Linked DNA regions of Homo sapiens: region 2 is linked to region 1. The links are contacts of gene promoters, found by promoter capture Hi-C in human tissues and cell types (Jung and others, 2019). All regions are on one chromosome and are shown on one strand. The core of a region is centred on a gene start or on the middle of the fragment in contact, and the rest is flanking DNA. Distances in the headings are between cores, read along the strand shown. Region 1 holds the start of C10orf53 (chromosome 10 open reading frame 53). Region 2 overlaps CHAT (choline O-acetyltransferase).

What was found. Contacts are between HindIII fragments. The study calls those that stand out against the background at their distance.
Region 2: a contact is called between a fragment that was not itself captured here and the fragment with the promoter of C10orf53 in region 1, in 2 of the 25 tissues and cell types used here (small bowel and stomach).

Annotation. Positions count from the first base shown.
Region 1 is chr10:49,677,100-49,682,033 of GRCh38, forward strand. C10orf53 (chromosome 10 open reading frame 53) reads left to right here and starts at 2,552. Exons shown (of 3, transcript NM_001042427.3): 1 at 2,552-2,695. The coding sequence starts at 2,599. The HindIII fragment of the contact is 11,001 bases long and covers 1-4,934 here.
Region 2 is chr10:49,640,103-49,645,036 of GRCh38, forward strand. The region is part of intron 7 of CHAT (choline O-acetyltransferase); the gene reads left to right. Among named protein-coding and RNA genes, the nearest start is that of CHAT, 29 kb to the left of the region's middle. The HindIII fragment of the contact is 6,718 bases long and covers 1-4,934 here.

The DNA.
Region 1 (4,934 bases), core at 1,302-3,801:
CTGAATGAAAATTAGAGAGAGAGCAAGAGTAATTAAGCATAGCATTGGGGCTTCTCTTACCCCAGGGCTATCTAGTGCTCTTGAATAGGCGGTCTAGAGAATGACCTGCATTTTTTCAGTCCTTGCAGATGTAGAGGGTACAAGAACTGGAGTCCGGCACCACCAAGGATGGGGAAACCCTGATAAGTCACCACCCTCCTTAAGTTAGGATCCCAAAGGACTGCACCACAGGAATTAGGATTAAATATAAATCAACCAATCTCCAAATGGACTGTAGCCCAGTTTTGAGTCATCTGGATGGCTCAGAAAAATCTCAAACTCTGAAACTGTATGAAGATGATCCTGGGTTGGTACAAGTAGGAGTTAACAAGAAGTAAATTTTAAAATCTTCTATAGGGGAAGATACTATCTTAGGCCTCAAATTGTTTCTACAAATACTTTTTTAATACAATGTCCAGCACACAATTAAAATAAACCAGAACTCTAGGAGACAAGATAAAATGCGTAGAAACCAGCGGAAATAATAAACCGCAGGACAAACACATGGGTTCTCCAAACAATGGAATTCTCAAACACAGTCTATAAAATACCTATCTTTACTACAATGAAGGAGATAAAGCCAAACCTAAAACACTTGGGAAGAAACTGAAAGTGGCACAGCAGATTTGAAAAGAGAACAAACTAAAATTCTAGAATTGAAAAATATATAACTGGAATAAACAATCAAATTCCTGGCTTTTCTTCTCAGTTAAGAGCCAAAAAGAAAATTCGTAGACTGGATTACAGGTAAAAATGAATGAATGCATGCATACAAACGTGTATACATACAACCCCAAAAGAAGTATGGAAGAAGAAAAAAGAGAAAAGCACAGAGAAGACACATGCAGATTACAATGAGAAGGTCTAACATATACCTAGCTGGAGTCCCTGAGAATGAGAAAATGGAACAAAAGCAATATGTGAAGAAATAATGACTCAAACTTTTCCAAAAACTGATGAAGGACTTTAATTCAGTTTCAAGAATCTCAACAAATCCCAAGAGAGGTAAAATATACAGTAGCATACGTTGAGAGAATTAGTGGGAAAGGGTTTTTTAAATCCTTTACTGTTACAGTAAAACTACAGAAAGCAAGAGATAAAGAAACATAAGCGGTCTTGAAAACAGAAGAGTAACGGAAAACAACTATTCATACAAAACTTTTAGCAAAGTTAAAACAACGTTAAATTTCTAATTAATAAAAACACTACAGTGAGTAGAGGATTTTTGCCTTTAAAGACGTGTACAAAGTTTATAGAGAACCAGAAAATAAGTCCTTCTAAGACAAGACAGGTAACCACATAGAGCCAAGAGGATGAATAATGACATCATGTACAGTCCTGCCTTCCTCCATAGTCTGCTGGGTTCAGCTGTGTTGGTGAATTCAGTGGTTCTTGTCCGATGGTGCGAAACTCAAGTGCTGGGGGAAATTATGTATGACCCATAATAATGTCAAAATTCTGCTGATATCATTCCTCTATTTAACAATCGTGTATAAACTAATTCTCATCAAAGAAATATGTATCATAGAACATACTGTACACGTGGAGAGAATTAAAATACACAGTAGCATACGTTGGGAGAATTAGTGGGAAAGGGTTTTTAAAATCCTTTACTGTTCAAAAGGAGGGTAAAAATATCAACTACAATTGAATATTTAGAAAGTAAAGAAATGCTGTAATCGCAAGGGTATTGCGATTGTTAGGTTGGGCTAATTTCTGTAATAAACAACCCCCAAAATCTCAGTGGTTATGGAATAAATGTTTCCTTCTGGCTTCGGTCACCAACTAATGCAGATGGGTGGGGCTCTATTCGGCGCAGCTACTCAGTGGTCCAGGTTCCTCCCACGTTTTGGGTCTGTCTCCCCGGGAGCCTCGGGTCCTCCCTGGGATCCCGTATCTGGCTACCGATAAGAAGAGGGAGACAGCAGGTGTGGAGGAGACTTTTTAGGAGCCATGCCTAGAAGTGGTGGATGTCTTTTATGTCCAAATTCCAATGAGCAGAACTGAGCAAATAAAAGGGAATTGGACGAATTCAGTTTTGGCTCCACCAAATAGCCTAACTGGTGACAGAAGGGGCCGGGGGAAGAAGGTGGGGGAAGAAGAATGATGAACGAATACTCCCAATCAATCAAAAAGAGGCAAGAAAATAGAAGAAATGCAAGGGTTTCCAATCCATACTACACCCCTGTCACTCTTGGGACCGCAACTTGCCCTCCCAGAGCCTCGGTTTTGTAAACAAAAAACATAAAATACTTCCTAGGGATGGTAAACTGATTCAACCAGATAACGCAGGGAAAATGCTTCGCACGCCGCCTGACACGAACTTACTGTGCCTGGCTGCTGCTGTTATTTATCACTAACACTTGCCACACCAGCTCAAACGCGCGTATTTGCGGACCAGGCGCTGAGGGTCACGTGAGCAGCTTGGGGCCGGGAGGATCCCCTAGCGCCACCCCGGCCCCGCCCGGCGCGTAGCGACGCCCACGCGCCCGGGCCGGAAGAGAGGTTGCTTAGCAGCGTGTGTTTCTCCCTTGCCTCTGCGGCGGCGGAGGCCTGGCGATGCCCAAGAACGCAGTGGTCATCCTGCGCTATGGGCCCTACAGCGCGGCAGGCCTACCGGTGGAGCACCACACCTTCCGCCTGCAGGGCCTGCAAGGTGGGCCTCCTCGCCGCGTGCGCCCCTGAGGGCCCCAGCCTCTGAGCATCCGTGCAGGTGGTGCCCTGTGCCTAGGCCTTCCTCAGACCCCCACGAAGCGCCACCTCTCCAGGAAGTCTTCCCCAGGATGATGTTGCAACCTATGGCTTCCAGGGCTGGGCTAAAAGAGTGGGAAGGCTCTTCTATCCAAGAGTGAGCTGTGGGCCCACCCAGTGCCCAGCAAATTACAGAAATTACCTCCATAGAAAAAATTACATAACCCTGCTTTAAGAATTGGGAAACTGAGGATCAAGAATATTAAGTGACTTTCACAACTCAAATGGCTGGGAAGTAGCGTTGCTGGTATTCCATCTCTTAATCGTTCATGCAGCAGACTTTTATTAAGCACGCAGTGTGTGTTGGACACCCTTCCAGGGACTGAGGACACACTGTTAAACAGTGATGAATGTCCTTGAAGTAATCTCCTTGTTAACTGCTAAATGACAGCTGTGCCTAAGCTCTGACTGAGGCTAGGTGGTGCCATGGGAGCTAACCACAGTGGGACCTGTGACTAGCCATAATGGGAGGGGAGAGGGAGAGGTCTGGAAAGGCTCATTTAAGTGGAGCCTTAAATGAGCCCACATTTAAGTAGACCTTTAAAGAATGAGTAGAAACTAACCAGGTAAAGAGAGGAATGCCTTCCAGGCAGAGGGACTAATAATATAGGCAATGGCTGGAGGCATTCAATAAATGATGTATTAATATTTGTTAAACTGATGGGGGATGAGGCTGGAGAGGTAATCAGGCCAGATCCTGCAGTGCCGCAGATAAGTTTTAGGCAGGGGATGAAGCTGTTGCTGCTCTGAGGAGAACAGATTAGAGGGGGCAAGAGTGGAAACAAGGAAGACAAGTCTGTTGGGGTGGTCCAGGGCTGAGATGAGAGTAGCTTGGACCATAAAGGAGACCATGGATCAAAGTGAAAGCAATGGTACTTCCTGAGAGGATGGAGGTGGGAGGTAAGGGTAAAAAGAATGTTATCCGGATCTAATCAGTGTCTGACTTGAAACAGTGCTGATGGATGGATGTACTGTCCACTAAAATCAAAGACACCAAAGATGGACCAAAATTTGGAGGAATATGTGGAATCGTTCCAAAGGAACAGTCTATTTTGGTCATACAGATAGTCCCCAACTTAGACTTCTTGACTTTAGCATGGGTTTATTGGGAGGTAACCCTATCCTAAGTTGAGGCACATCTGAACCTACAATGGTTCCACTTAACGATTTTTCCACTTTATGATGGGCTTATCCAGGTATTAAGCCCACTTTCCACTTACAGTGGGCTCATTGGGACCTAGCCCCATCATAAGTCAAGGAGCATCTGAATTAAGCTTCATGTGCTTTCGGCTACCTAGACAGAGGTGCTGAATCAGCTCTGTTGTTCTGGAGTTCAGAGAAAAAGTCTGAAATGGAGATAGAAAGATGTGAGTCATTGACTTGGAGAGAACATATAGAATGAGATGAGAGCCCAGGAATGACCATTGATGAACTCCCATCCTATGACCCAAACTAAGAGTCTTCCAGGCAAAATACCCTGAAGCCTAAGGACACAAAAATTAGTTTTAGCTGAGCAATCAGGGAAAGCCTCCTGGAAGAGATGGCATTTGAGTTTGAGTTTGAAGGATGGGTAGGATTTCAATCAGCAGAGGAAGTTACTTTCTGTGAGAGAACAGTTGATAGAGAAATTTCTGTTGCAAATACCTCCATGTTTGTATTTGTCTATTGGGATTGCCAAAACAAAATACCATAGACTATGGGACTTAAACAATAGAAATATATTTTTTCAGTCTAAAGGCTAAAAGTCCCTGATCAAGGTCTGGCAAGGTCAGCTTCTGGTGAGGGCTCTGGGCGCTCTTCCTGGCTTGCTGACAGCCACCTTCTCTTTTGTCCTCACCTGGTGGGATTATATGGGGAGAGCGGGGAGCAAGCTCACTGGTGTCTCTTCTTATAAGAAGAAAGACACTAATCCTATCAGATTGGGTCCTCATCCTTATAACCTCATTTAACCTTAATTACCTCTTTAAGCACCTGTAGTCACATTGGGAGTTAGGGCTTCCATATATGAAGTTGGGGGAAGGGGGGCAACAATTCAATTCCTAGCAGTGTTGCATGGTGATGTTTAAAATGTTTTGTAGTTTTGGCTAAGAAGACAGCCTAAATAAGTGACTTTTCTCTTCCTCCCCCTCTGATGAGCCACACCT
Region 2 (4,934 bases), core at 1,538-4,037, 37 kb before region 1:
TCAAATATGTTAAAATTGCTTGTTGAGGCTTTTTTATGATTACTGCTTTTTATTTATTTTATTTTAATTTTATTTATTTATTTATTTGAGACGGAGTCTCACTCTGTTGCCCAGGCTGGAGTACAGTGGTGTGATGTCGGCTCAATGCAGCCTCCGCCTCCCGTGTTCAAACTGAGATTTTCCTAGTTCTTGGTAGAATGAGTGATTTTCTGTTGAAACTTGGATATATTGTGTTATAAGACTTGGGATCTTATTTAAGCTTGTTTTAACTGGCTTCCTCTGACACTGGTCCAGCAAGAGAATGGGGGAGGTTATAACGAGGTGGAGGTGGAAGCACAGGCACTTCACTGGGTCTCTGTTGACACCCTGGGGGAGGGGACTCCTTATTACTGCAGGGTTGGGGGGTGGAAGTTCAAGCTCCCTACACGGTCTCTATTAATGCTGTGTGGGGAAAAGGACGGAGGGCTGGTTATTGCTCAATGGAGATAGAATTCTCAGCTTCCATCTGAGACTGTGCCTTCTCTGATACCCCAGAAGCTGAGATGCCTCATTACTGACTGGTGATGGTAGACATCTGGGCTCTCCACTTGGCCTTTGCTGGCAAGGGTGCTGGGGGAGGGAGGGATGACACGGTTTTTCTCTGTGGTGTTTGGCTGAAGTAGAACGCTTATTACCTAAAAGTTTTATGTCTTGCTATTCTGATCCTTTGACTAGAGAGAGCAGGCTTTTGTTGATTATTTTGTTTGTTTGTTTGTTTGTTTTTAACTATACCCACTTGTGTTTTTACGTTGCTGGGTTCTTCAATGCAAATTGGATATTTCAGGTAAAAAACAAACCAAAACAACCCCACAGTGTATTAGTCTGTAGAGCTGGCATAACAATACCACAGAGTGGAGGCTTAAACAACAGACATTTATTTCTCACAGTTTTGGAGGCTGGAAGTCCAAGATGAAGGTGTCACAGGGTAGGCAACTACAAGCCACCTTCTCACTGTGTCCTCACATGGCCTTCTCTCTGTGCACACATGCTTGGTATCTCCTCTTCTTATGAGGACACCAGTTCTATTGGATTAAGACCTTATTTAACTTTATCTCTGTAAAGGCCCTCCCTCCAAATAGAGTCACACTGAGAGCTGAAGCTTCAACGTATGACTTTTCAGGGGACACAATTCAGTCCGTAATACCCAGAGAATCTGCTGCTATGATGTTCCTTGGGTCCTGAGGTCCCTGGCTGGTCTGCCTTCCTCTCGCCATCTTTCAGAGTCTTCTTACTTTTGTTTTGAATAAAATGTCCAAGTTTTTAGCGGGAGGAATGGGGAAAAGTATATGTTCCTGGAATCGGAAGACCCTCTATCCAGAGCTCTTTAAAGGTGCCTGATGTAACTCAAGTCAAAGCAGTTCTGTTTTGCAAGAGTGAGAAATACTTTTGTTTGAATTCTCATAGTCTCTGAGGACTGACAGCATAAAGATCACCCCCTAGGCCAGAGAGTCGGGAAGAATATGAGATGTGCGATGGCAGATTTACCTCCCAAAAGAAAAAAGTACTCCTTCATCAGGGGAGGAAAGATGCTGAGATAGGATTGGGAAAGGTTAAGAAGGTCTAAGCCCCTGAGAAAGATCCCAGTTCATCCATCTCCTGGACTGTGAGAAGGGGGATGGGCATGGCATAGAAATCTGACTTGTGCTAACTTCTCAGGGAATAGATCAGAGCAAGCAAAGGCAAGTGTCCCAAAGAGGGTGGTATATGTCCGGGGGTACTTGTGCACAGTAGTGCACATTAAAGAACATCTCCTGAGTCTTGCAGCCCTGCACAGAGAGAGATACCAGGTGCTATTTTGTCTGTGCTCATCAGAGTCTCAGCCTGTAAGCTTCCAACCTCTAATGCCAGCCTCAGGGCTCCCCGAGGCCTCCTGGCCTCTGGAATTTCCACACTACCAAAGCTGTCAGCTCCCTCCTTGGGCATGGGTGTCAGAGCAGGCTCCTCCTATTACTCAATCCCCACCTCTCACTATTACGCCGGGCTCCTTGAGGAAGATTGATTCGCCACTTTAAAGGAGCCTCGATGTGCTCGATGAGGATGCCACAAGACAAATGGCTCCTGCCGTGCGCCTTCAGCCCGTTGTCCCATGTTTCCATTACATTTGGGCCACAGTCATGGTGGATGAGCTTGGGTGTAGTGCTCATTTTCTGCCTTACATGATAAACTTGTCAGCATTTGACTGATCAGCTACTTATATGCAGGGAGTTCATTTGCAAGGCCACCTGGCTCCCCGCTCTGTTGTCCTGCTCCCATTTTACCCTGTCTAATGAGCCAGGACCTGGTTCCTGTTGGGCAGCGCTGGGCTCCTGGGCCCTGCAGAGCCTGCACATGATGGCAAGGCCTCAGTGCCTCCTCACAATCTGCCTCCCCTGCCTGGAGGTGACAAGGGCAGTGATGCCCAGGGAGCCATTCTTTCCTGCTGCCAGCCTTGCATTGCCCAGTTAAAAAGGAGTGTGCCAGGCCTCCACTCTCCTGCCTCGAGCCTGCATCAAGGCCTGCTCTCAGCCTCCTGACTGAGCAGGCATGCTGTGGGCTGCCTCAGGAGCTGCAGTCTGCCCACTCCACACTGGCTTTGGGGCTGTTTTTAAGGATCGCTTAGTGAAGGCAGCTACTAAGCCAGGGCTCTCAGAGTTCACCCTGAGGTATGGCCAACAGGAATGAGGTGTACAGCATTCAAGCTGCCTATGGCCCCGGCTTGGCTGGCCTTCAGGCCCATGCCTTTCCCAAGCTGCCAGGTATCCTAGACTCTGCTCTGACCACACTGAGCTCTTCCATGATCCTTCAGCACTCCCTGTTGTTGCTGGCTGAAGTCACATGACTGAGCTGGGCATTCATAGCCCTTGTTGATGAACCTGAGCACTGGGGTTGGATGCCTGAGATCAAACCCAGCTCCCTCCACTTAGTGGATGATTATTATCATCCGTGTTTACAAGAGAAACCTTGTAAATGGCCTAAGGTCAAGATATTTGGTTTCTCTGGTCCTGACCTGTAAATGAGGCATGACAATGATACCTATCTTATATGCATCAATATGCATGTTTAGATTGATATTTGGCACATAGTAGGTGCTCAACAAAGGTTAGCTAATAGCATCACATCATTATGTTCTTCCAGCCCCACCTAAATCCTGCATGCCCTCACCCATAAGCTGGAGGTCAAGCCGATCACTCACAAGCTCTGCTTACAAGCCTGGGGATCTGTTCTCCGGCCATCCAAACCACTGTCCCACCCTCCATCCACCACCCTGCACTACTATACACCTCCTGGCATGCCTCTCCCTTCTTCTTTGCTGATCTGAACCTGACCCAGACCTGGCCAAGGCCTCCCCGGGGCTCTGAAGGCACTGGCTAGCCTGAGCCTGCAGGGACCAGTAGCACAGCACATAGTGCAGGGCGAGCACTATGGCCATCTGCAGGGATGCCTAAGGAGGGGAGAAGGGCAGAGCAGGGAGCCTTGCAAGGGGGAAGAAGCCCTACCTTGTCCCAGCCTCACCCTACCCCCACTCCCCCATCAATTCATGAAGCTCAAAGCCTCAAAAGTAGTTGGGTTTTGCCCTTCATAAGGACATGGCCTTTCCCCTTCCCATTAGCCAGCTGGACACCTCCAGGCCCCCTGTCTGAACTGGGTCCACAGATCCCAGCCCTACTTTGCCCAGGCCAAGGGAAGCACACTAAAGTCCATTACCCAGCATGGACTGTGCTTGCCTTGTTCAGGAGGCCCAGGCCCCACCCTCAGTGAGTGCTGATATGGGGGAGGGGACCAGACCAGGGGTCCAGGGGCTGCAAGTGCTGACTGTCCAAAGCACGGTGGTCTGGGAATGGCATTGGGGTCATGTGCTGTGCAGCAGGGGCTGGTGGTCAGGGATTGGGGGGCACCTCTGGGCTCAGGTGCTGTGTGAGGCTGGCCTGACAAGAGTGCAATTCCACATCTGCACTGAGCAAGCTGTGGAGGCCACGTGCTCAGGGTGTTAGGAGTCCTCCAGGGCAGGGCTGGTACTGCCAGAGGATGAGGGAGCTCAGGGAGGGCTGTCATAGACAGAGGAGGAGAAGGGCCTTGTCCTGGGCACAGCCTGCGTGATGATGAGGAGATGGGATGTCCACAGGATCAGGGAGGGGCAGGAGGTTGTCTGTGAGGTCCACGCAGGGATCTAGGGTGGGAAGGAGGTGGCCATGGAGCCCACGGTGCCATGTTTAGAAATTTGGATTCTCCCTTGTGGGCGGTAGAAGCTGTTTCAAGTTCTAAGAGGGTAATGTGGTGACTGCACCTCCTTAAGGAGCTTACAGGAAGGGGAGTTTCCCCAGGGCCTGGGCTGGCTCTCATTTATGCTTAGATCCTCAGGGCATGGCCGGATCCTTGATGCTGATCAGACTGAGGCAGGGAAGCCCAAGAGGCCATGCAGAGAGTGAGGAGGCATCCTGCCCTCATAGGGACGAGGAGGGGTTCTGAAAGCACAGGGCTCCCAAAGCCTCATCCTCAACAGGAGGGAAGAGAGGATGTCCCAAGGCTAGGCTGGCTTCCCAGAGTAGAAGGTCTGCTGTGGGAGACATCTCCTTCCCCAGGATTTGCAAAAAGTGAGGGAAAGGGGATGCATGGGGACTGGAGACTCCTTTCAGGCAAGGGCATCTGTGGACACTCCTTGTGAACCTGGAGAATTCACCTGGGCAGAGCGAAGACCAGTGCAGTTAGCATCTGTGTACACAGCAGGCATTGAGAAGACCTAGGGGATGGTCTTAAAGATTTACTAACCACCCTGGGAAGGGGAGCTGTCCACATGCCCAAGGAAGGCAAAACGCAGGCGAGAGCTCCCACCATTATATCTGTGATCCAGGCAGCAGGATGGAGGAAGGTGGGAAGCAGGACAAAGAGCACATGCTAGTTATCTTTGAGGAGGTTCC